4 separate regions of the Homo sapiens genome follow, and regions 1, 2 and 3 are each linked to region 4. Evidence: promoter capture Hi-C in 16 types of primary human blood cells and fetal thymus (Javierre and others, 2016). All regions are on one chromosome and are shown on one strand. Each heading gives the region's core, a stretch centred on a gene start or on the middle of the fragment in contact. The rest is flanking DNA. Distances are from core to core; before and after follow the strand shown.

The links. Contacts are between HindIII fragments. The CHiCAGO score rates a contact against its expected background, and 5 or more counts as called.
Region 1: a contact is called between a fragment that was not itself captured here and the fragment with the promoter of WDFY3-AS2 in region 4, in 5 of 17 cell types (endothelial precursors, M0 macrophages, M1 macrophages and 2 more). The highest score is 9.9, in endothelial precursors.
Region 2: a fragment that was not itself captured here is called in contact with the fragment with the promoter of WDFY3-AS2 in region 4 in 1 of 17 cell types (erythroblasts); the score reaches 5.2 in erythroblasts.
Region 3: a fragment that was not itself captured here is called in contact with the fragment with the promoter of WDFY3-AS2 in region 4 in 5 of 17 cell types (endothelial precursors, M2 macrophages, erythroblasts and 2 more); the score reaches 12.0 in endothelial precursors.

The regions. Positions count from the first base shown.
Region 1 is chr4:84,734,164-84,741,230 of GRCh38, forward strand. WDFY3 (WD repeat and FYVE domain containing 3) reads right to left here. Exons shown (of 68, transcript NM_014991.6): 39 at 6,024-6,253; 40 at 4,847-4,956; 41 at 3,021-3,203; 42 at 2,007-2,164; 43 at 880-957. Among named protein-coding and RNA genes, the nearest start is that of WDFY3-AS1, 59 kb to the right of the region's middle. The HindIII fragment of the contact is 1,758 bases long and covers 372-2,129 here.
Region 2 is chr4:84,711,287-84,718,409 of GRCh38, forward strand. It overlaps WDFY3 (WD repeat and FYVE domain containing 3), which reads right to left. Exons shown (of 68, transcript NM_014991.6): 49 at 5,610-5,730; 50 at 4,012-4,097; 51 at 1,873-1,953. Among named protein-coding and RNA genes, the nearest start is that of WDFY3-AS1, 82 kb to the right of the region's middle. The HindIII fragment of the contact is 2,953 bases long and covers 3,349-6,301 here.
Region 3 is chr4:84,768,660-84,775,288 of GRCh38, forward strand. It overlaps WDFY3 (WD repeat and FYVE domain containing 3), which reads right to left. Exons shown (of 68, transcript NM_014991.6): 28 at 6,406-6,479; 29 at 6,161-6,322; 30 at 4,176-4,270. Among named protein-coding and RNA genes, the nearest start is that of WDFY3-AS1, 25 kb to the right of the region's middle. The HindIII fragment of the contact is 1,258 bases long and covers 2,926-4,183 here.
Region 4 is chr4:84,963,791-84,970,060 of GRCh38, forward strand. WDFY3-AS2 (WDFY3 antisense RNA 2) reads left to right here and starts at 1,826. Exons shown (of 4, transcript NR_152775.1): 1 at 1,826-2,068; 2 at 5,935-6,086. WDFY3 (WD repeat and FYVE domain containing 3) reads right to left here and starts at 2,900. Exons shown (of 68, transcript NM_014991.6): 1 at 2,419-2,900. The HindIII fragment of the contact is 8,814 bases long and covers 1-6,270 here.

The DNA of each region.
Region 1 (7,067 bases), core at 1-2,500, 230 kb before region 4:
TTTCTTCTGGCCACTGGGATAGATCCAAACCATTTTTTAAATGGAAATTATGACACAGTACAAGTTCTTATCTATCAAATGACAAATATATAACATTTCAACAGTAGACAGTGACAAATAACTTGCCCAATGATTCATGGAATATAAGTATATACAATTTAAATCTAAAAATAAAGATTTCTAAAATATAACTGACAGTAAAGATTACTGAGTGAACAATTAAAAAATTATCTATCACAGTAGTACTGATATGTTCTTTGGTTGGGGAAACTAAGGATCTAGTGTTATATCCGTAAAATATTAGCAGTTAACCATTCAGAAACCTTTAATAGATCCAAAATAGCTAATCTGAGAATAAAATATTTAAGATAAGCTTTTGAGTAATTATGAATTTACCAAGAGAATTTCAATAAATTTATTTTTCACTGACATAATCACCAAGCACTTGTAGTATAGTAAAAAATAATTTCATTCAATCTTGTAATTTTTTACAATTTTAAGAGACTTCTCAGAGACTTGGATGCGTATTTTCACAATCTCCTTGTTAAAAGCCTGAAAAAGAAGGCTCATTCTTACATTTTTATTTTTATTAGGAACAAAGACATGTAACATATCAGTAGTGAATGTCAACAGAATTCAGCTGGGCTCATTTTCAGTTAGTTGCTTTTTGAAATGCAGTTTGTTGACAGAAGATTAAAATTTTCCATCCTAAAATCAGTAGCCAAAGTAGCTGATGGCAGGAATAATTAAAACCATCATCTGATGACGAATGCAGTCCAGCAAGTACCTTAAAATGGGCAGAAAGATACCAGGACAAACAGAGACCTTTCACATACAAAAAATGTAAAACAAACCATTATGATGATTATAAGTCCTTACCTCCTGATATTCTTTATATTGTGTATCTACTAAGTCACGAACAACAGCAATGTGAGTAAACATCCACTGCGAAATCTCCTAACAATGGATGGAAAAAGAGTCTTAATATTTCATGGATTTCTGGAAAAAAATAGTTAATTACCCTTGAAATTAATGCTAAATAATTGGTTAAAATTCTGCCAAAAGCACCAAAACAGAAAACTAAAACAAAAAATTCAGAATGAATTATATGCTTGTGTGATGGACACAGATCTGCATGCTCTCCCACCCCCAAAGCCCCTTCAAGGAAGGGCTTGCTGCCCACGTGTCTGGGCTGCTCTCAACACCCTCAGGGATGGCCTTAGCTGCAGAGGGCCGACGGGGTGCCCCACATCCAACGATCTAGGGGTAAGAAGACTCACACATTTCAGCTTAATGGAGGTCAATTATAAGAGGGTATTCTGTCCTCAAAGCTCCACTTAGCTTGGCTGAGGCTGTCACTAGACCAGCACTGCAGCCTGACTTTTCCCTATGTCCAATCCTGCTTTCTTCTCCCTTCCACAGGTATTGATCCCAAGGGCACCCCCTAATATACATTATGCACACTAAACTCCATCTCAGAGTTTGCTTCCTAGAAAACCTAACCTGATGCATGAGATGGCTGACACATACTATTTCTCTCAGATCCTTTTCATAGCTGCCACTTAGATTCTGGGATGGTGAAGGAAGTAGGATGAGGAAGAAGTTAATGCTGGAGGCAGATGAGCTTTTAAAAAACCATAGGTATACACAACAAGATTGTAAAAATTAAAAAAGGCTTGTTTGGCTATTGCCTTAAAATTTATATAATTATTAGTAATAACATTATTGAAAGCTGGGAAAATTGAGAGAAAATTATCTATAGTCTGATCATACATTAATCTCTAAATCTCATCTTATATCCAGTTATAAAATGGGTATAAGTAAATAGCACTCATATATAGTTTTATCATAAGAAAATGAGAGAAATTCCCATAGTCTGGATTACTTCTATCTCTATTCTAAAGCAAAAATACAGAAAAGTTTCATTTCCAATCAATTGCTTGTACATGTTAAGTATATTATACAAAATACTACAACTAATATCAGCAATGAAACTAAAAAAGTACCTGGGTGGAAAGACTGTGTTTATTAAGACCACTTTCTTTTCGATTCCTTCTTGATCCTGTTAACTTGGAAAGACCAAAGCCACTGCTGACACGGGATAATTTGGACTGTGTGGTGGGCGCTAAAGCTTCTCCTCGACTTATGCATTTCTTTTCATGGGCTATTAAAAAATCAAATTAGATTATTTTATAATTTCTCCATGTATTTATGAGTCTTACTTTAAAAACTTATCTGGTTATAAACTACAACCCTGTAGTTAACAAAAGTAGCACATATTACAGATGCAGATATTACATTCAGATATCACAAATTTATTTATTGGTAATCTTAAGGATGACTGCTCGCAAATTGTATTAGCTGAACTGATAGTTGGTTGAAAGTTCACAGCTCTGTAATAACATGCAAATTTAACTATAACGAGTTTCTATATTAATAATTCATAATCACCTAATTAAAACCTTTGGTGTTGGGTATACTTCGCAACTTAGAAACTATTTGGATTTTTAAAAGGCTATACAGCTTATACACTAGATTATATAATGCCACCAGAGAATCTATGGTAATAAGCTATAATTTAATACGTCAATATTACTGCAACAAAATGTATGAATATTCCCATACCAAGTAGGACAAAGAAAGATAAATTAGGTTCTGTTATAAAGTCAGTTTTGGCACCAAATTAATGAAAAAACAGAGCTTTTTGAATTTCAAAATTATAGTTAAGGGATTGTGGACCTGTAGCCAAGACAGTGACAATACTAGAGCTGTTAGCAATGCATTACATTCTGAATGCATAAACGCCTGATGTATAACATACCTCAGATGCTAAAAAAAAAAAAAAAAAAATCAAAGAGAACTAAGATCTCAGTATAATCATTCTAGAATGGTTGTTATATTGATTTTAAGGATGACTTTATAGAATCCTTTTGTGAATGCTGTAGTCACATATTTAAAGTATACCCATATATGATAGCCACATGTAAATCTCCTGGTGGTATGATCTCTGTAGGCCTTACCCAAATGATTCTGCCAGCACTTCAGGGCAGCTTCTTCAATGAGTGGCCTTGCTGTAGCTATGTCCACGTGGCCCCTTTCATTCACAGGTAGAGTTACTTTGAAAAGTTCCTCTAAGACTTGTTTCTTACTATGTATCAGTTCAGTCCAAACTCTGTTGACAGCTTTTATGAGAAGCTGACGCCCTAGTAAACAAACAAACAAACAAACAAAAAAGTAAGCAAATGATCAAAACACAGTATAAAGTTAGTTTTTATTTTTCTTCATGTTTACATGTGGGAATTTCGACTACAGTATTTAATGTAAAAAAAACAAAGCTCATGTTGTATCTAGCCCAGTGAAAAGGTTATTTAGACAACTGAAACTGTGGTTGCCTATTTAGAAAACATTAAAAAAACTTTATATTCATACAAAAGAACATTTTTATTTATAAAATTGGAAATTATATATATGTAATTAACTAACTTTTTCTAGATTAAAAACTTATCCCCCATTTAAAAGTAATTTTTAAATCTGAATGTTTAAGGTGAGTTCAAAACTAAGTTAGTATTCTTGAATATTTTGCACAAGAAAAGAAATATTTTGAAAAGACTTTTACTATGAAATTCATTCTTGCTTTGGATTCCTTGTTTGTATGCCTGACTCCTCCTCCAGACCAGTCGGCCCTCAGCAATCACCTGAGGGCCTGTGATAACAAGCTGCTAGTCCCTCACCTCAGGGTTTCTGATTCAGTAGGTCAGAGTAGGGCAACAGAATCTGCTTTTCTACCAAGTTCCCAAATGATATTGATGTTGCTATTCTGAGGACCTTGCTATGAGAACCAACGCCACTTCCTCAGGGGGTGAAAATAATAACCGCATCTTTGGTGTTTAGGGTTCAAAACATTTTGGTGAAAGAACAGAGAATAAATTCATGTTTAAATGAAGGAATGAAATTAAAATGAGTGCTGGGCTTCTCAACAATGAAACCATATGTAAAACTATCGCACAGTATTTCTGGGGAGACAAACACCACCAGAGTGATTTCTCTTTATCACTAAACATGTGGAAATAAGAAATCAATCCATACAAAGACTTCAATATGCAATCCTTACAGGATTAGTGGGAAAACCAGATTGAAAAAAAAAAGAGAGGGGCTGGGCATGGTAGCTCACAGCTGTAATCCCAGCACTTTGGGAGGCCAAGGCCGGTGGATCACTTCAGGTCAGGAGGTTGAGACCAGTCTGGCCAACACGGTGAAATCCTGTCTCTACTAAAAATACAAAAAAAAATTAAGCCAGGCGTGGTGATGTGCACCTGTAGTCCCAGCTATTTAGGAGGCTGAGACATGAGAATCACTTGAACCCGAAAGGTAAAGGTTGTAGTGAGCTGAAATAGTGCCACTGCACTCCACTGTGGGCAACTGAGCAAGATTTTGTTTAAAAAAAAAAAAAAAAAGAGAGAGAGTATAAAGAAGAATAAAAAATAGCACTATTGATAACCTGTCTCAAGCAATATTAGCCTACTCTAATGTGATATGCCTGGCATTATCATTGGGCAGTTCTCTTTATAGTTAATTCCAAGGTAGTATTTGTACTTCTACTTAAGCAAATGTAAATATTAATACCACCACCAAATCTCACAGTGTTACTAAGAAATGATGAGCTTAGCAATATTACTGGTTAGTGCTTTACTGTTATTGGCATGAGGAGACTCTTTATGTATAGGTTGCCCTACTGGGAGAGTTGCTATCAATGCTGGCAGTTTCTGAAGCCAATTTGTTGGTTATGTCTTAAAAACTGGAGATAAAACAACCACAATTTAAAAACATCCCAAGTCAAGGCAATTACCTTCACTAATATCTTGGCTGTAACTACCATCTGGTTCAATGTCCGAGGGGATCATAATGTGCCATGTGGTCATGCGGGCTTCTGCTTCCAGTCCAAATCCATCCACGTTGCTGAAAAATTCCAGTCAGTTTAAACTTTATGAAGGAAATGATTAGCTGAAGACTACAGTAACTAAGAATTACTCTATTTCCATTACCAGCAGACACTGAATGTCTACTCAGCAGATGCACAGAACAGAATTCTAGTTTGCCAGGAAGATGCCATTTTTAAGAGGTGATCAAATAAATCCACCTGACTAAATGTAATTAGACTGATCTATAGCATCAAGATTATTACCTTAATATTTAACATGCCTTTTGATTATTGTGAACATTTTTACCTAATAATTACAAAATGTTCATTCAACTAAGAACATTTTTCTAATATGCCTGTGTCCTCTCTCCAGTCTTATATCTCACTACTCTGCTCCTGTAGTGAAGTAGTTGCAGTTCCCCTGAGGTGCCACACTCCTTCTTCCCTCTGGGCATTCATACAGACTGTTCTTTCCTCCAGTAGCAGTTGTCTCCATTCTCTTGTCCTCCCCAACCAGGTCTCAAGCTGCAGCTCAGCAGGTATTTCTTTCAGGTTAGGGGCCCCTCTTATGTGCCTCCAAAGCACTGGGTTGTTCCTAGCAGATCACTCAATACAGCTGACTGGTCTTGCTTAGCTGTTTCCCCTCAAGAAGGCTGCCACAGGGTCTATCATACTCACATTTTGTCCCAGCCCCTAATTCAATGCTTGGCCCCGGCAGACTCTAATGAAATATCTGTCAAAGCAATCAACTGAAAAATACTAATTTTACTCATTTAACATATAACACTGCATTGAGCTTCACTTTTTACTTCTCTTAGATTTCAATGGTATATATTTTATTTGCTTTAAAAGCAAACTTCCTTATATAAGTGACATATGGTGATAATGGAAAATTTTAAAGGTGTAGAAAACTAAGTTAAAGGAAAAAAAAATACCCATTATTTCACTGCAAAAATTCAACACTTGCCCTTTACCTTTTTACATAAAGGTTTAAATAAAACAGAGTAAGGGTAAAAGAAATGTTACTATCAAAAAAAATAAAGAATTTTGTTGGAATAACATCAAAGCCAAATTTAACATGGCAAACTGAACCTAAAGGATTTACCTTCCAACATGTAGATTTATCAAGCAGTGGGCCAGACAGCTAATGAATTCTTGGTCATGGTTCCCAGGTCCCAGGATCAAGTTTCTGTTTACAGTGAGGACCCTGAGTGAATCAAGCAGAGCTACTTGCTGAGGAACGGTTTTGTGTGCCCGTGAGAACTGGTACAAGATGGTCCTATTGAGGCAATGATACACTGCATCCAGTGACAATCCCTGTGATCTTCTCTTTGACTAAAGACATGAAAGGTATGTTTTTAGTATAATAGACAAAAGTAAAACACCTGTTAATCATTCATACATGAACTTTTATTAGGTCTATTATATACCAGATGCCATGCTAAGTATGCAGGTGCTAAGTTAAAAGATACAAAGCTCTTACTATTATGGATTTCAGAACCCATGAGACACATCAATATCATCTAATGAATGATATGAGGGCTACATAAAAAAAAAGAGCTCCCAGGGAGGAGAGCCACTAACGATGCTGTGGGGCAGAGCAGTCTCCCTGAGAACACGAGGATGTGACAGCTAGGGGAGTCTCCTCACAAATATATTTTGTTAGGATAAATGATCTATATTCAAAAGTACTGAAAAAAATTAAGATGTTACTAAAATCATTTTTTTTTGACATTCTAATTTCATCCCCTCATTTGAGAATTTTTCTCTTTGGCTTAAATACAAATATATCCCTTTGAAAAGTCTTAGGTGACATGACAGAGCCTATGTATCTGTGTAGCATATGCTAACAAAACATGTAACAATTATTTCTTACTTTCTACATTAAGTATTAAATAAGATTAATCAATTGTGCCAAACCAGGCCAAACCCTTAATTAAAAGTACTGTGAACATGCACAAAAAATAACAACTTCAAGAGAATATAAACTACAAGGAACTTTGTAAAGATTCAACTGATAAGAGAATATTCTTTTAATATCAACTCTTCATGCTGTGTAAGCCTTTACACATGGATGTAGTATACAGTACAAACCTACCAAACTGTATTACTGTATTAAGGTATTTAAATCTATCTGGGTAGCAAAGAA
Region 2 (7,123 bases), core at 3,575-6,074, 250 kb before region 4:
CAGAAGTTTAAATGTAAATGTCAAAAAGCAAAATTTAGAGGAAAACTGGGAAATCTGCAACAAATATGACAAGCAAAGGAGTAATACCTTATGGTAGAAAAATCCTATACAAATTGATAAGATCTCAAAGGAAAAATAGGCAAAAGATACGGACAATTTACAAAAATGATTTTAAATGGTTAATAAACATATACAGAGCTCATGCTTACTAATAATCAAAGAAATATACATTAAAAATCAGAAAACATTTTATAAAATCAATAAAATAAAAAAATTAATATACAGGCCAGGCGCAGGGGCTCATGCCTGTAATTCCAGCACTTTGGGAGGCCGAGGAGGGCGGATCGCGAGGTCGGGAGTTTGAGAGCAGCCTGGCCAATATGGTGAAACCCCATCACTACTAAAAATACAAAAATTAGCCAGGTGTGGTGGCGCGCACCTGTAGTCCCAGCTACTCGGGAGGCTGAGGCAGAAGAATCGTTTGAACCTGGGACGCGGAGGCTGCAGTGAACTGAGATGGTGCCACTGCACTCCAGCCTGGGCAACAGAGCAAGACTCCGTCTCAAAAAAAAAAAATAATAATAATATACAAAGTTAGCAAGTATCTATTGAGACAAACTTATCCACTAATAGTACAATATAAACTTGTATAGTTTTTATGAATATCAAGCTGGTTTTGTGTATCAAGAGCCTTAAAATTCCTACTCTTTGTTTTATTAAGGGGACTCTACCACAATAAAATAATGAAGAATCATAGCCGGGCATGGTGACTCATGCCTGCAATCCCAGCGCTTTGAGGGGCCAAGATGGGTGGATCACTTGAGGCCAGGAGTTTGAGACCACCCACGCCAACATGGAGAAACCCCTTCTCTACTAAAAATACAACAATTAGACAGGCATGGTAGCACATGCTTGTAATCCCAGCTACTTGGGAGACTGAGGCTTGAATCAGCCTCAGGCTGGGAAGTGCTCAGCCTGATGCTGAGAATCGCTTGAGCCCAGGAGGCAGAGGTTGCAGTGAGCCAAGATCACACCATTGCACTCCAGCCTGGGTGACAGAAGGAAACTGTCTCAAAAGAAAAAAATTAAAAAAAAAAAAAAAAAAAAAAGAAGAATCACATTTCCAGTCTTATGATAAGAAAACCTGATAAATGCCAGGCACAGTGGCTCACGCCTGTAATCCCAGCACTTTGGGAGGCCGAGGTGGACAGATCACCTGAGATCAGTAGTTTGAGACCAGCCTGACCAACGTGGCAAAACCCTGTCTCTACTAAAAATACAAAAATTAGCCAGGTGTGGTGGCAGGCACCTATTATCCCAGCTACTCGGGAGGCTGAGGCAGGAGAATCGCCATGAACCCAGGAGGTTGCAGTGAGCCAAGACGTGCCATTACACTCCAGCCTGGGTGACAGAGCGAGACTCCATCTCTTAACAATAATTAAAAAAAAGCAAAAACCTGATAAAGATGAAATATCCAAAAATTACATGATGTTTTATATATGTGATGAATAGATAGCGAATAATAGTTATGTTTCTGAATAGTTTTTTAAAGATGAGAGGGAATATTTAAATATAACACTGAATAGAAGAAGCAGAATAAAAACTTGTATTTAGAGTATAAACTCAATCATGCACACAGCAATACTCATGCTTTAAAGAACAGAAGGTAATTGATCAAAATGTGAGCAGTGATTTGACACAGTGCTTATGCATACCTTTTTCTTTTCTTCCTTTAGTTTTCAGTATTTTTTTAAAAAAATTTGCAACCACCAGGGGAAAAACACTCATCTAAAATGTTAAATAATACTGTCCAGATATGAATCATCCCAACTTCACTATTAAACTGTAACATGCAAGGAACAAACCACCTACCCCTGCTCCACACTCGTGTTTGGTCGTTGCCCAGATACAGATTCTGAACTGTCCGTTAGAGATGGCACTACAGCCAAAAACCTGAAAAATTTAAAATAGCGTAAAATTACAAGTGAAGTCTCAGTCAGGATCTAATGGGAAGCCTAAGAAAGGACGATTCGTTTAGATTTTCATAGTTGCGTCTACCCTCCCATAACCCACTAAATGGCAGGCAAAAGGAATATATAAATTTTGGACTTCTCTAAAGAGGAAATAATTTCTTAGCACTGAAAACAATAGCACCTTTAGAAATTAAAAAAATCAGATAAGTAAAAGTGAATCTCAATCACTTTACTTAGCTCTTCCCATATGTGAAAGGAGTTTTGGGTTACCAATCAACATCCACAGGCCCTTTATTTGAAGAACCACCCTCATTTCCCAGGTGCTCACGGGTAATATTACTGTACTGCAATGAGAAGCAATGTTGGATGGTTTAGTTATTCCTCATGGAAATAATCTGAAATATAAAATTTTCTATAATGGAGGGATTGCCAGGATCTGTATCACCCTTCAAAGAACAAGAGAATGCCTCTCATCTACATGGTTAGTTCAGAATAGCCTTATTATTCACACATTCAAAAGAATTATCTTTTAAGTACCAGAGATGTGTGTTGTTTTTCCTTTTTTAAAAAATTTATAGGCTGTGTGTGGTGGCTCACGCCTGTAATCTCAACACTTTGGGAGGCCGAGGCGGGCAGATCATGAGGTCAGGAGATCGAGACCATCCTGGCCAACATGGTGAAACTCCATCTCTACTAAAAATACAAAAATTAGCTGGGTGTGGTGGTGCACCTTGATATCCCAGCTAATTGGGAGGCTGAGGCAGGAAAATTGCTTGAACCTGGGAGGTGGAAGTTGCAGTGAGCCGAGATTGCGCCACTGCACTCCAGCCTGGTGACAGAGCAAGACTTTGTCTAAAAAAAAAAAAAATCATTATTATTTTTTGAAACAGTGCCTTGCTCACTCAGGCTAGAGTGCAGTGGTGTGATCGTGGCTTACTACAACCTTGACCTCCTGGGCTTAAGCAATCCTCCCACCTCAACCTGCCATTACAGGCATGTGCCACCATGCCCGGCTAATTATTTTCTTTTTTATAGAGACAGGGTCTCACTATGTTCCCCAGGCTGGTCTTTAACTCCTAGACCAAAGTGATCCTCCCTCCTTGGCCTCACAAAGTGCTAAGAATATGAGCGTGAGCCATTGCACGGCTTGGCCTGTTTTTCACTTAAAAGGTAAATTTTAAATATAGTTTATTAAAGATAAAAATATGCTTAGATTAGATTAACTGCTTTATTTAGCTATACTACTTTTTCAAGGATGAAGGTATCCAACATCCCTTCCATGGCCAGAGAAAAGTCCCACATGAATTAAATTTACTCAGTCCTTGCATTCAATAGCAAGAAACTGCATTGGCTTCATTTTGGTAAATACAAAGAAAGCTTATTTTGAAACTAAAGTTTTATTTTTGGCCGGGCACGGTGGGTGGCTCACGCCTGTAATCCTAGCACTTTGGGAGGCCGAGGTGGGCAGATCACAAGGTCAAGAGATCGAGACCATCCTGGCTAACACGGTGAAACTCCATCTGTACTAAAAATACAAAAAATAAGCCGGGGATGGTGGCGGGTGCCTGCAGTTCCAGCTACTCGGGAGGCTGAGGCAGGAGAATGGCGTGAACCCGGGAGGCGGAGTTTGCAGTGAGCTGAGATCATGCCACTGTACTCTAGCCTGGGCGACAGAACGAGACTCCGTCTCAAAAAAAAAAAAAAAGAAGAAGAAAAAAAGAAACTAAAGTTTTATTTTTAAAGCTACAGTTTCATCATCCTTTGTATTTAGAGACACAGGACTTAGTGATAAAAGTAGTTTTTGATGATCTCTACTATAAGTTACCAGAAGGAAAAATGGTATGTCACAATAGAATTGCACCATTTTAAAAGTCAGAAGAATAATTGTTTCAAGAGGGTGGCAAAAATAATATAAATTATTTTCTTCAAAGATGTTGGCTCATTGATCTAGATTTTTAAAAACCAGCAAAACTGAGAAAAGATTCCCCCTCCCATATCTTCCCATAATAGTATACAAAGTGTTCCGAATAAACAAGACCTTTGATAGACTTTGTTTCTGATTCCTTTCTGAAAAGCAAGGAGGTAATTCCGTCCATCTCCAGAGAAAACTTCCACAGCAATAGGCTGAAATGATCAGAGAGAAAAACATTAAGAAAAAACAGAAGTTCACAAATAAAATTATATATTAACTTTTCCACTATAAATTTCTACAATGTTCAAGAAGTTAATCTGCGGCCGGGCGCGGTGGCTCATGCCTGTAATCCCAGCACTTTGGGAGGCCAAGGCGGGTGGATCACAAGGTCAGGAGATCGAGACCATCCTGGCTAACACAGTGAAACCCCGTCTCTACTAAAAAATACAAAAAATTAGCCGGCCTTGGTGGCGGGTACCTGTAGTCCCAGCTACTCGGGAGGCTGAGGCAGGAGAATGGCATGATCCCAGGAGGCAGGGCTTGCAGTGAGCCAAGATCGCGCCACTGCACTCCAGCCTGGGCAACAGAGCGAGACTCTGTCTCAGAAAAAAAAAAAAAAAAAAAAAAGAAGTTAATTTGCTAACACTTTTAGAGTCATGAATTCCCTGCAGATTAAGCTACACAATAAATAGATATTTCTTATTCTGCTCAATTTATTTCTAAAGTCTTTAGTAACAGAATAAAAAAAGTAATTATAATTTTATAATTATAATTTTATAAAATTATAGTAAGGATGTAATTTTTATATTAGAAGAAAACTAAAATGTTGATTTGGATAGCTACAGGGAAAGATGGATAACAAAGATAATTACCCAAATTTTAGGCTGTGTTTAAACAAGAGAAATGCATTATACAAAATTATGCATCCACATGACCTGAGTCTGTCTATAACCATATCTAAGGATTATTCTAAATGCAGATCCTGGCCAGCCACGGTGGCTCACGCCTGTAATCCCAGCACTTTGGGAGGCCGAGGCAGGCGGATCACGAGGTCAGGAGATCAAGACCATCCTGGCTAACATGGTGAAACCCCGTCTCTACTAAAAAACAGAAAAAAATTAGCTGGGCGTGGTGGCAGGCGCCTCTAGTCCCAGCTATGCAGGAGGCTGAGGCAGGAGAATGGTGTGAACCAGGGAGGTGGAGCATGCAGTGAGCCTAGATCGTGCCACTGCACTCTAGCCTGGGTGACAGAGCAAGACTCCATCTCAAAAAAAAAAAAAAAAAAATGCAGATCCTATTGAGGGTTTCCATGGCATGTATCAATTTTAAAATAATACATTTTCGGCCGGGCGCGGTGGCTCACGCCTGTAATCCCAGCACTTTGGGAGGCCAAGGCGGGCGGATCATGAGGTCAGGAGATCGAGACCATCCTGGCTGACACAAGGAAACCCCGTCTCTACTAAAAAAATACAAAAAAATTAGCCTGGCGTGGTGGCGGGCGCCTATAGTCCCAGCTACTTGGGAGGCTAAGGCAGGAGAATGGTGTGAACCCGGGAGGCGGAGGTTGCAGTGAGCTGAGATCATGCCACTGCACTCCAGCCTGGGCGACAGAGTGAGACTCTGTCTCAAAAAATAAAAATAAAAAATAAAAAATAAAATAAAATAAAACAATACATTTTCAGAATAAAGAAACATGATAAAACAGTACTACTAAATTGACTCACCTGCAGGAGATATCTCCTTTTATGAACTTCCTTGATATCTTCATATGCAAAAATGCTGCATGTTCTCTTGAGTTGACTAGGGCCTTGCCTGGCTCCTCTAGGAATAATAGGCTCATGCATACTACAGGCAGCCAAGAGAAAAAGCAAATAAAAACACAGCAAGGGATAAATTCACTGTTCCATAAAGGGCGTGCTAATTTTAAACACATGAACAGGATGGAGGAGTAATATATATCAGAATTTTCAGTTAAAAAATATATTTACAAGAAGAATTTGTTAGCTACCTGAGATACAAGGAACCCCCTTTGATGAATATAATTTTAAAAATCCCCTTATTACTGTCAGGACCAAGTTATCTACCAGACATGGTTAGCACAGTGCCTCAGCTCACATATTTTGGGGCCCAAGAAAATGTCTTAATTTCTTTTAAAAATCAGAAAAAAAATCAACTTTTAGGTAGAAAAACACATTTTAATATAAGATTATATTTATACCATTAGCCACAACATACAATTTTAAATATTTTTGTATGGAAAAAGGACCCACGAAAGACTTCATGTGACCCTGATTGTTGTTGACAGTAATTATTTGAAATATCTCCTAGGAATGAACTACAGAAACAATGTCTGTGTTCAAGGGTGCTAGGAAAATGTTAAAGGAAGAGAAGCAGCCTGTTGATCTTCTAAGCCCTAAGCTTCTTAACTTTCTTCTAGGTTGGTCTGTCTCCTGAGTTTTCCACTACTCACTACCACTTTCATCACAGGACTGGTAGAAGAAAAGGAAGATGCCTACAACTCAGTCAGTAAATCTCTGCTAATGCTTTAGTCATGCTGTTTCTAGGGTGCTCCGAGTACCTGATGATGCTCTTTCATTTTTAAGAGTATTCTTCACGCCTGTAATCCCAACACTTTGGGAGGCCGAGGCGGGCGGATCACAAGGTCAGGAGATTGAGACCATCCTGGCTAACATGGTGAAACTCTGTCTCTACTAAAAATACAAAAAATTAGCCTGGCGTGGTGGCGGGCGCCTGTAGTCCCAGCTACTCGGGAGGCTGAGGCAGGAGAATGGCATGAACCCGGGAGGCGGAGCTTGCAGTGAGCCGAGATTGCGCCACTGCCACTCACTGCACTCCAGCCGGGGTGACAGAGTGAGACACTGTCTCAAAAAAAAAAAAAAAAAAAAAAAAAAGAGTATTTTCTCTACAATTGTATATCTGCTATATTTTTTAAAAGGACCATTTATAAATTCAGAATAAATTTGTAAATATATACATTATAATATAAATAACTCAGAATGCACAGAAATAAATGTTATTTAGCTTTCATCTTGATAAATAAGCCAAACATTTTCATTATTACCTTAAAATAACTGAATATCATCTTTGTGAATATGTAATGATGAATGCACACAAACCGAGAGATAACATTACCTAGAACACAATTTTTTGATTAAAAAAGAAAACTGCAAATACATTTTCTGTCTTCTAAAGATAGCCATACATTATGTCTCTTCAT
Region 3 (6,629 bases), core at 2,305-4,804, 190 kb before region 4:
CACCTAGCCATCCAAGAGCTCTGATGGAGATGCACAAAAAAATTAATGTTGTTTTCATGCTTGCTAATATATCCATTCTGTAGCCCATGAATCAAGGAGTAATCTTGACTTTGAATTAACTTCAAAGTTTTATTATTTAAGAAATACATTTCTTAAGGCTATAGCTGCCATAGATGGTGATTTATCTGATGGATCTGGCCAAAATAAAGTAAATATTTTGGATAAAATTCACCACTTTAGACGCCATTAAGAATATTCATGATTCATGGGAAGAGGTCAAAATATAAACATTAACAGGAGTTGGAAGAAGTTGATTCCAATTCTTATGGATGACTTTGAGGGGCTCAAGACTTCAGTGGAAGAAGTAACTGCAGATGTGGTAGAAACAGCAAGAGAACTAGAATTAGAAGTGAAGCCTAGAGATGTGACTGAATTACTGCAATCTCATGATACAACTTTAACAGATGAGAAGCTGCTTCTTACAGATGAACAAGAAAGTGGTTTCTTGAGATGGAATCTACTTCTGGTCAAAATGCTTTGAACATTGTTCAAATAACAACAAAGGACTCAGAATATTACATAAACTTAATTGATATAGGAGTGACAGTTTTTGAAAGGATTGACTCCAATTTCCAAAGAAGTTCTACCATAGGTAAAATGCCATCAAACAGTATCGCATGCCACACAGAAAACTTTTGTGAAAGGAAGAGTCCATTGTTATAGCTAACTATATTGTCTTTTTTTGCTTTTATTATTATTATTATTATTTTTTTGAGACGAAGTCTCACTCTGTCGCCCAGGCTGGAGTGCAGTGGCGCGATCTCGGCTCACTGCAAGCTCCGCCTCCTGGGTTAACGCCATTCTCCTGCCTCAGCCTCCCGAGTAGCTGGGACTACAGGTGACTGCCACCATGCCCGGCTAATTTTTTTTGTGTGTATTTTTTTAGTAGAGACGGGGTTTCACCATGTTAGCCAGGATGGTCTCGATCTCCTGACCTCGTGATCCACCCGCCTTGGCCTCCCAAAGTGCTGGGATTACAGGCATGAGCCACCGCGCCCGGCCTGCTTTTATTATTTTTTTAATTGACATATAATTGTATGCATTCATGGGGAACAGTATGATATTTCAATACATGTGTACCATATGTAATGACCAAATCAGAATAATTAGCATGTCCATCACCTGAAACCATTGTTGTCTTATTTTAAGAAATTGCCACAGCCACCTCAACCTTCAGCAACCACCACCCTGGTCAATCAGCAGCCAACAATATCCAGAAAACACCCTCCACCAGAAAAAATTACAATTTGCTGAAGGCTCAGATGATTGTTATCATTTTTTAGCAATAAAAAACTTTTAAACTGAGTTATATACTTTTTTTTTTTTTGAGACGGAGTCTCACTCTGTCACGCAGGCTGGAGTGCAGTGGCGTGATCTCTGCTCACTGCAAGCTCTGCCTCCCAGGTTCAAGCCATTCTCCTGCCTCAGCCTCCTGAGTAGCTGGGACCACAGGCGCCCACCACCACGCCTGGCTAATTTTTTTGTATTTTTAGTAGAGACGGGTTTCACCATGTTAGCCAGGATGGTCTCGAACTCCTGACCTCATGATCCGCCCTCCTCAGCCTCCCAAAGTGCTGGGATTACAGGTGTGAGCCACCGCGCCCGGCCGAGTTATATACATTTTTTAAAAGATACAATGCTACTGCACAGATAGTAGACTACAGTATAGTGTAAACATAACTTTTACAGCACTGGGAAACCAAAAAATTTATGTGACTCACTTTATTGTGATGTTAGCTTCATTTGCAGTGGTGTGGAACTAAACCTGCAATATTTCTGAGGTATTCCTATACTTTCCTTCTTTCTAGAACTAACGCTCAGGCTAAAGTTTCATGGTTATATACTTCTACTTGTTTGGAACAATGTACCTGTAAACTGTCCTTTAAAATGCTAACTTAGTACCTTAATCATTATGGATACTTCAAGCTACCAAGAAGAACCCAAGATCCTCACCTCTTCTAAGAAGACAGAGACTGGTAATTTGAAAATTGCCTTATCAAAAGAATATCACAAAACTTACTCTAAGAGCTACTTCCTTTAAATTTTTCTACAATAAAGTAATAATCTAGACAGAAATTAAAAATTTTATTTAACTTTTATGTCTCCTTTTCTTACTGCCACAGTTTTCATTTTTTAGAACATTATACTCAATAAAGTCTTCAGTGCATATCAAATAAATAATAAATGTCATACACTAACAAGACTAGCAATTTGCTTCTGACTTTATTATTTCAAATGACAATAAGCTGATGAGAGTATCAGTCTAATCAACTTGGCATATCAAAAGAAAAATTTACTAATTTATACATCCCTACTTCAATGTTCTATATGAAAGAAAAATTTACAACACTACTATGGTTACTGAATTCAATGGACAGCAAATAAATATGGAAACCAGATAAATATTTTTCCCACCTTTTTTTGTTTGTTTTTAGAGACAGAGTCTCACTCTTGTCACCCAGGTTGAAGGTCAGTGGCACAATTACAATTCACTACAGCCTCAGCCTCCTCAGGCTCAAGTGATCCTCCCACTGCAGCCTTCTGAGTAGCTGGGTCTATAGGTGCACACCAACACACCTGGTTAATTTTTGTATTTTTTGTAGAGACGGAGCTTTGCCATGTTGCCCAGTCTGGTCTTGAATTCCTGGACTCAAGCAATTTACCTGCTTCAGCCTCCCGAAGTGTTGGGATTACAGGTGTAAGCCACCATGTTCAGCCCACATATTTTTTATACTTGAAATAAATGCATTACATATTTCAGCAATCTTTAAAGCACTTTCACTACCTAATTATAATTAGTCAGCCTATATTAATTTAGAACTTAGAAATAATCTTTGCATTTCGTAGGAAAATGTAGTAGTTAAAAGCTTAGAATGCTTGTTTAGACTACCTGGGTTCCTATATAGTCAATGGTATGATATTGGATAAATTTCTTTTACTTGTATCTTTTTGGGCTGCAGTTTCCTCCCTTGTATAATTGGAATAATAGTACCTATTTCATATGGTTATTACAAAATTATATAGAGCACTTAGTAAGTATTCAATAAGTGTTATTCATTGATCTGATCTTTATACTTCTCATCCACTGCTAATTTGCTTCACCAGAGAAATATCAGCATCATTCTAAATGAATTGGCAGTAGGTAACTGTCAGGGTCCTGAACCTGTCACTAACATACTGTGTGATTTGCAGCAAGTCACTTAGTTTTTCAAATCTCTCCATCTCTCCTTTGAAAATTGTAATCACACCACTTTCTCCTACTCATGAAGCACAGGAGAGGCTGTGCTCGGGAAGGACAGACATCATGGAGAACCCCTTTGGGAGGAAGTGATACTACAACAGTTCTTCTCCACCCTCCAGGTAGATGGGGTTGTATGGACTTAAATAATCTATATGATATGATTTGGGAATAATATAATAGGGTAATAATGTAAATAAGGCTGAACAAATATAAGATTCTGAGAATTTAATTCCAGAGGTCAACCTAAAAAAAGGTCCTTTCAATGCATTCCAAGCAACTCTCCTGTCCTAGCATATACAACAAGAAAAACATATGGGAACAGAGGGAGGATATATATGTACTAAATGAGGAAAGGTTTCCAAAAAAAGTACTTGTCATGGACCCAGGAACTTACAACTTATGAAATTATTTTTATATTATACTTACATAAAGTGATACTATGTTATTTTTCTCAGTGACTACTAAATATTTAACAGGGAAGTGAAAATAATAGTAATACAGATATATGGATATAATTTAGTTTAGCAAGTATCATGTTTCTGAAGAGATATACATACATTTAAAAAATCAAATAATGTTCAAATCACACAGGAAGAGTTTGCTATTTAAAGAAACATTGCTATGAATACTCTAAAAATAGGAAATATTTTATTTTTGAAGTAAAATTCACACCCTATTAAATTTTGTAGGCAATACTGTATAGGCTTAATATAAGACAAATACATCAGAGAAGGGCCAAAAACGTAATGTAAGGAGAAAAGTTATACATATATTATATATAATCACATGTAATTCAGGTCTAATTTGGGCCAGAAGAAAAAAGGCATAATATTTAGTTGACCACTATCTTCTCCAAGCTCCAGAATCAACTTACCAGTGTCAAGCTTCTCTTCATTATTTATTTCCATTACTACAAATTTCTCACAAACCGCAAAGGTTGGCAAAGTAGAAGAAATAAACTGCCCAAATCTTTAAACAAAGGAAAACAAGATTATGGATTTTCTTTTTCCTCTTCCCAAAACAAACAACAAAGTACAAAGAAACAAAATACAAAGAATAAAAACCAAAACAGTACTTTTTTTTTTTTTCATAATCTCATTTCATTTTATTCACTTGCAGAAAGAAATGCATGTTCTGATCATCTGGAGATTTTAGTTTCCTTGTTGCCCACTCAGTCCTTCACAGCATACCACCAGCGAGAAAGATAAGAGTAGTGTGGGGGCATGTCTTTGTACTTCTTATCTTAACTAGCCTTTTAAGGACCATTAGGTGATAATATTTAGTTTGCTTCCTCTTGGACCATCCCAAGTAACATTATATAAAATAATGCTTTTAAAATATGGGGAAAATACAGTTCTTCGAAATATGAATTCTTTAATGCACTAACATGCAAATGGTTTCAAAAACCAAACAACATGATCCATATTCGAATGTCCTAACATTATCTGGATGGATCCACTGTAGCCTAGCAGTTAAGAACTTGGGTTTACATATATGATTAAATTCCTGGAGTAGGGGGAACAGGAGAAGAAAAAACATCCTGACTGTATCACATTCGAATTACGTGACCTGGGGCTTTGTTTCTTCATTTATAAAGTAGGGAAAAAAACAAAAACTTTTACAGGTTTAGGGAATAATTTCAGCAAAGTGACCATTACAATGCTAGGAATTGCTTTAAATATACATTCTTGACATAATGATAATTATAATTAATTCTCCAAAATAATTCTTAAGCTAAAGTTTTAGATCTGCCACCAGATTTTTTGTTTGTTTGTTTGAGACGGAGTTTCACCCTTGTCACCCAGGCTGGAGTGCAGTGGTGCGATCTTGGCTCACTGCAACCTCCGCCTCCCGGGTTCAAGTGATTCTCCTGCCTCAGCCTCCCAAGTAGCTGGGATTACAGGTGCCCACCACCATGCCTGGCTAATTGTTCCTATTTTTAGTAGAGATGGGGTTTCACCATGTTGGGCAGGCTGGTCTTGAACTCCTGACCTCATGATCCGCCTGCCTCAGCCTCCCAAAGTGCTGGGATTATAGGCGTGAGCCACTGCACCCGGCCCCCCAGGTTTAAAAATATGTTTTGAAGGCAAATTAATAAAAAAGTGAGTGACTTACAAACTATACAGATTAGAGGTTAGTCCATGAGAATAACTGAATAAATGGGTGTGATTTCACCTGAGATACTTGGTAGATCACATGAACGAACAGTAGTGACCAAGTCCAGTTTAAGCAATTCTCTACTTGAAAAATATTCAATTGTGTAGTTTGTTTTTCTTGTTTTCCTTCTATAATCCCCAAATTTTCCAAAATGGGGATTATCATGTGAACATAAGAACATTTCTACAGACATGCCTTCAATATGCCTTAAACCGCATTTTGCATTGTCTGCAAAATAATACTTATATCATACAAAAAGTGTGGATATGCAACAGATTTAAAATACCATAATCTGTTTGAATGACAGAGAATAAAAAATAGCGGTGGCACACCCACTATTTAGGAGTGTGTATGCGTGCTTGTGCACATACATTTAAAAATTAGCAGGGCTTGGGAAATAGGATTGGGAACCAAGAATTCCTAGACTGAATACTTTATATCCAGGCCAATTTCATTGGGCTAATTCCTACATCTTTTCTCACCAATATTCTACTATTCACTAGTGGCAACAATTAGCTTTGCTCCATCAAGGCAAGATATTGTCTCATTCATGTTTTCCATGCGTCATAAATATTTTGAATCGTATTAACATTACAGGTGTTATTACACAGTCATAAAAACCAATTAAATTCATCTCATCCATCTTAACCTCATTGGTACTTTTAGTTAATAAAAAGACAAAGACAAAGAAGTTTTTCCTACCTGAGCAGATCATTGCTGCTAGGAAAACCTTGCAGTAAGAAGCTCAGGACATTACTAATAGCAGCAATAGTAGGCTGGGATAAAGACATATCTCGAAGAGTCAGGAGCAGCTTTGGGATTAACTGGAATTCTCTCATTAATTTGGCATTCTTTGAGGCTTCACTATAAGAGAAAGAAGATTTTATACACTGTACTATCACCTTTTCTATAGCTGAATAATTAACTACGTGGGTATTAATTAATACCTGGACTCTGTGAGCAGTTCAATAAAGTGTTCAAATAAGGAAAGATGAAGTTCATATGGTGCATGGAGCCAGACCTATAATAAATAAAAACAGTAGTATATTTAAGGTTAAAAAAAATGCCCAAATGCCAAACCAACAAACACCAATACAGCACATGGAACTTATTTCACTTATATAATTATTATCTTGTAAAGTTCTATAAAACCACTTATATGCAGAAAAAA
Region 4 (6,270 bases), core at 576-3,075:
TGGCCCACCAGTGTTTGTATGACTTTAAAACAACTTGTTCTATTTCCCCATCTGTAAAATGGGATTAATATTTTCCTTCGATTTAAATGAGAATGTGTTAGAAACAACGTCTATGTGCTGAACTCTTAATCACAAACATTTCTTGGGCATAATCAGAAATGAAGGACATAAATCATCAAATGTAATTTAAAAATTTTAGCTTTCCAAATATGGAATATGTATTCTTTAATTTTATATCTAGAAGTTCATAATCTTTTACAGACCCATATCCTTTTGAGAATGTGATCACCCAACAGAGTCTTTATCTAGGAAAAAAGCAAATATATGCTATATTCTGCATATGATTTCTGGGAAGCCAAGGACCCTCAGAAGTATATGCATGAAATTAAGAAAGAAGCAGGGCATGGTGGCTCACATCTGTAATCCCAGCACTTAGAGAGGCTAAGGCAGGAGGATCACTTGAGGCCAGGAGTTCAAGATCAGCCTGAGCAACACAGGGAGACCCTCATCTCTACAAAAAATAGAAAAATTAGACAGGCATGGTGGCATGCACATGTAGTCCTAACTTCTTGGGAGGCTGTGGGAGAAGGATCACTCGGGCCCAGAAGTTCAAGGCTGCAGTGAACCGTGATCGTGCCACTACACCCCAGCCTGGGCAACAGGGCAAGACCCTGTCTCTAAAAAAAGAAATAAATAAATAAATTAAGAACAACTGATGTAAACTTTTAAAATTGCAAAGTTGAGCAGTGGAATTTAAGAATCTCTTCAAAGCAGAGAATCCAACTAATATTGAAATATACTGTCATTTACTTTTTCAAAAACAGATTATGCAAGAGTAGAACATTGTATTTTCTAACTTATCCCTCCTTTTTGGAGGTGATACAAATTTTTTGAAACATTTTTTTTTTTCTTTACAAAAATTGTTTTCTCTTTGTTGCCCAGGCTGGTCTCTAACTCCTGGCCTCAAGTGATCCCCCAGCCTTGGCCTCCCAAAGTGCTGGAATGACAGGCATGACCCACTGTGACCCACCAAAAGCATACATATATTTCAGATGAATCCATTTTAACTCATGGAAAGAAACTAGCAGTAGAAACCTCTTTCTAGCAGCTTGAGATAGAATGGTTCAAAGTATTAACATACTTTACTATTGCTCAAATATCATAGGAAGAGTTCTCAATTCTAATGCAATATATATTTTTAAACATAAAAACATACCAACCTAATTCCTATACTTAAGAGTCTCATGATAAAGTTTTATTTTTTTTAAAGTCGGATTTTTTTACTAGACTTATGCACTAATACAACATGTTTTTCTATAAATTAGCACATTTTTAGTTCTGTTTTATGTTATGTTTGTTACGTCGCCTGATAGTCGAAACCAGTTGTTCTCAACCTGCTACCAAATACCAACCTGGAAATATGCCACTATTTAAAAAGCCCGAAGAATAGGGTTTTGTTTTTCCTTTTTAATTGTTTGGTGTTCAAACTACATAGTAAACCAGTTGGCAACCATTACTGAACAAAAATAGTTTTTCGTATGCATGAGCACCATTTTCCAACAGAAAACACTTAACCATTTTTAAGGTACTGGAAGTCCATGCAAGGGTTCACATATGCAGTAAATATCCTTTCAATCTGGTTGTATCACATTGTTTCTGTGAAAGGAAGACCTGATATTGCAGATCTCACAATTAAATGGTAAAAATCAATGAAAAACTGCACCTGAGGCTCAAACACTAGCCAGATGGCCTTTGGTTGGAAAGGTCTCATCTGCTTCTTAAATCCCGCCGTAACTGTGAATGTTTGCGATGCCACCACATCCCCAGTACAAGAGAACTGGAGCATCTCTGGCTCCTTCCATAATCGAAGGGCTTCCAGCGTAGGGCGTAGGGGGAGAGGCCCGAAGCCCTGGAGACAGCGCCCGAGGGATGGAGGCCGCGCTCGGCTGCGCTCAGGTCCGGGTGGCTCCGGGAGCTGAGACCCCGCAGGATGCAGCGGGGGGGGGCCAGGGCCTGATCCCCTACCCCTGCGAGCCAGGGCCGCCTACGCCCCCACTGCTTCCCACAGGTAACGTCCAGCCCTCTCCTCCCCTATCCCCCGAAATATCCCGGTTCCGCTCCGCTCCGCTCGCCGCCCGTGACCCCGACCCCGACCCGTCCGCGACGGCGCCCTCCCCAGGAGGCAGCGGAGGACTAGGGCCAGGCCGCCCACCCTGGCGGCGGCGGCGGCTCCCGGCCAAGGCGGACCCTGGGGAGGACAGCAGCTGGGCCGCGGCCTGTCCCTAGGGGGAGCGGGCGCAGGGCCGCGAGTGGGCAGCGCCTCCGCCCCGCACGAACAAAGCGGCCAGGCGCGCCGGGCCGAGGCAGCACCGCCTCTCCGGGAGCGCGGGGGGCGGGGAGGATGGCGGGGGTACTCACCTGAGGGCCGGCGGAGGGCGCGGGCGGGACAGGCCCAGGAGACGGGACCGCGGCGGGCCGGGGCTCCGCGCCGAGGGCGCACGGGCTACGGGGAAGGGGCGACCGGCGCGACGTCCGCGGCGGGGCCCGGGAGCCCCGCGCCGCGGGCCGGGGGCCGGGGCCCGAGCTCGATTCTGCGGCCGCGAGGTATGGGAACCGGTCCGCCGGGCCAGGCAGCGGTGCTAGGCAGCAGGGGCAGCGACGCCGCCGCCTTTCCCTTCTCCTGCCCCCGTCCCTGCTCCGCCGCGTCCTCGTCCTCGCTGGGTCCCCGCCGCCGCCGCCTCAGCCTCGGCGCTCCTCGGGTTTCTTCTCTCCATCAAGGCCGGGCCGACCCGCAGGGACCATCCCGGAAAGTGAGGGGTTGTTGCCGTTTCCCGCAGCTGTTGGTGGCCATCTTTAATCCTCCTCCTCCTCCTGCTTTCTCCACCTCCCGCTGGCTGTCTGACTGACTGACTGGATCCTCCTCTTTCCCCTCCTGCTCCTCCTACTGAGCCGGCCGCAGAAATTGCAGCCGCTCAGCTTCTACCCCCTCCTGCCTTTCCTTCCTCTTTCCTTACTTCCTTCCCTTCCCTCGGCTTCCCGCTCTTGCCTCACTCTCAGCGGCTGCCTTCGCCCCTGTCTGCAGACAGCGCCGCTGGATGCTCCCAGCTGGACTTCAACCCCACTCCTCTCAGTCCCTCTCCCCACTGCCTTCCAGACGCGCCTCTTCCCCGCCCCGCGCCCCTCTCTCCTCTCCCACCCCTGCCCCTCTCCGCGGCGCTCACCCTCCTCAGTCCCAGTTTCTGAAAGGACTCAGCTGAGAAAGGACAACTGGGTTCCGCTTTCCTTAACCCTACACCCTTTAGCTGGATGCTGTCAGAGGCGATGGAGAAACGCAAAGGTGCGTTAATTTTACTCTAGCCAGAGTATAAAAGAACTGCCCACGCCAGCTATTGTACTACGCAGCTTCGAAACTCCTGCACGCTCTCCTGTGTGGCTCCCGTCCGTGATGGGACTGTAGTTGAGGAGCTCGGTCTCAAATGGTGCCTTCCGTCAGTGACCTTGAGTCGGTTGCCTAAGATTTTAGATTTTCCTTTTCCTTCCTGGGAGGGGCATTATTTATACCTTTGCAGTCCCACAAACAGTGTTTAGACCAAATAAGTATCCTTTAGTAAACCTAGAACTGCCAAGTGATCATCATTTTGCCCGTTTGTTCCTACTCAACCCAGCAGACAATTTGGGTCACGCTTCAGTTCTGGCAGTAAAGACAAACTGAGTCAGCAGTTAGGAGTGGACTCCCTTAAACAACAGAGTTAGAGTGGGGAAGTGGTCATAACATCGCTGTAATCACAAACTTGTTTTTCCTAACACTGCAATCTACAGAAGTTTCAGGATTTCCTCTAATAAACATAAGGCAAGTTGGATTTGCTGTTTTCTTCTTTTTGACGATTTTGCCTTTAGAGTTGGACCCATTTGTAATGATTTACTCGTCAATTACTCCAAGATAACAAAGTTGGAGGTAACATTGCTAACAAACACAGGTGATATATATGAGCACTTTGTGGGGGGGGGGTGTCACAGTTTTTCTTCTGTGGGGCACTGGCTATTAAAAAAAAAAAACACCTTGCCCTTTCAAAATAAGACTAGTGTGTTCAAAGGTTAGTCCCTTAAACAGACCAAATGTGGGCAGAAATGTTTTTAAATGTAGTTTTAGATTCTACTTCAAAATGAGTAATGTTTTGAAAGTTCAAATATAAGATTTTGTAATTATAACAATTTAAGAGTTTCAAATCTCTTTGAAAAGAATATGCCAAAACAAACCTAAAAATATATTTTAGTAAAAATACCGGTATCCTTTGGTGGGGGGCGGAGCAGAATTCTAATATTTAATCCTCACGAAGTAACCTTAATTAACTGTTAGGTTCAAGATTTCAGTTGCCATCTTTCAATGCCAATAATTTTTCCATTTGAAATCAACAACCTATACTAACATCTACAACTCTTTTAAACCCAAATAAAGTATTTGAGACAGCATTGTACAATACGTTTTGAAATAAATTATTAAAAACAAAGCACCTATGTGGGGGTGTGTGTGTGCATATGCATGTACATGTACTTTTTTTGTTCTTTCCCTTTGGCCTTTTGGTGTTTATTCTTTATTTAGATTTTGTGTTCTTCCAGTCTATTTCTAGGCAAAATACCACAAAATTCTTGACTCTTAAATATTCACTTATAAAACTGTATGTATAATAATTGGAGAAAAAAGAACGTTAGATAACATGAATATACACTGCGAAAATAGGCTGACTTCTTTTAAACATTAAGACCACCATGCATTTTTAAAGGAAGATTTTCAGTTAGAGGTTTCAGGACTCTTGTCATTGTGATTTTATTTACACTGAGGGAGGAAGAGTTACATTTTAAAATACTATAATTATATTTTTCTGTTAAAACATATATTGCAATAAAGTTCACAAATCTATCAGTATGCAAAAGCAGCCGTTTTCATATTAATGTCTTACAAACTCACAAAGGTTTTTCAGTGATAGACATAAAAATAAATGTACCAAGTTTTTTTTTTCTTTTTTACTGAAGCCACATAAACGTAAGTACTGTAATAATGGAAAAATCAGACCCTTCACATTTACTTTTTTACAGCTCTGTCATCATTACAGCCTTTAGTCTTTGTTGCTGGCTAACTGTAGTTTCACTGTCATCTTAGGAATCAAGTACGAAAAAAAAATGATCAAATCAGGTTTTCCTGCAACATGATTATTGTTTCATATGTATTCACTCTCAGATAAAGTCAAGGTCCTCTATAAAACAAAGAATTGTGTTAAAGTGGGATAAACCCTTTGTGCAGAGGCCAGATGGAAAGAGATCTAGGCATGTGCAGCAAACTCCTCTGGGAATAGAGGAGCAAGCATGAAGGGCTATTTCTAAACAGTTCTGCACTGGGAGGCTGATCTCCAACTTACAATTCATGAATAAGGTGACTGTGGAGAATGATAACCAAGAGGCTATCTGTGACAATAAGCAAACAACCCATATTTGCTTTTAACATGATTGAAAATTCTATGAACATGAATGAGTGAAACATAATTTTAAAGGAAGGAAAATGGAGATAAAAGGTTCATGAAAAATATCTAAAAGTAAGAGGAAGAAAAAATAATAGAAAACAGCAATTTTGGAAAATTGTTAAATAATACATATTAACAGTTTGCTATTTAAACAATTATTTTCTTTATGTTAACTTTTTGTTAACATGTTTGCTTTTAAGACTATACAGGAAATAATTTAAACTTGGTCAGGTAGCATTATCCCAGAGATGAGCATATGTAATTTATAGAATTTTGAGATATTTATTCCAGAACATAGAGTGCTAAATGATGCTGGGACACAAAAATCAAAAAGAATGGAAGTGTTAATTGACATATTTAAAAATTACTGAGCCACTATATTACATATTATATTAAATATACATTTCCATTTTTCCAGGCTACTAGACGCAACAATAGAATTACCATATTGTTTTTCCTGGTTTGAAAGGACCAGATGGAAAGAAACTGGGCAAGCCAATGAAAGTCTCTGGGGATCATGGGAATTGAGTGTCTATGAAAACCATATTCCAGACAAGAATATAGTCTAAGGTAAATGTTCTCATAATCTCCATTCTTTAGAAAAGACAATATTTCTGTTCTGCATCTTCCTCTTTAGGTGGACTGTCAAAAATATCAATTGAATAATGACAAGCCATATTTATCTGCACTGATTGAAATTTAGTATCATTCTTCACTCCTCAATTTATAGAACTACTTATAATTAACTGATGAG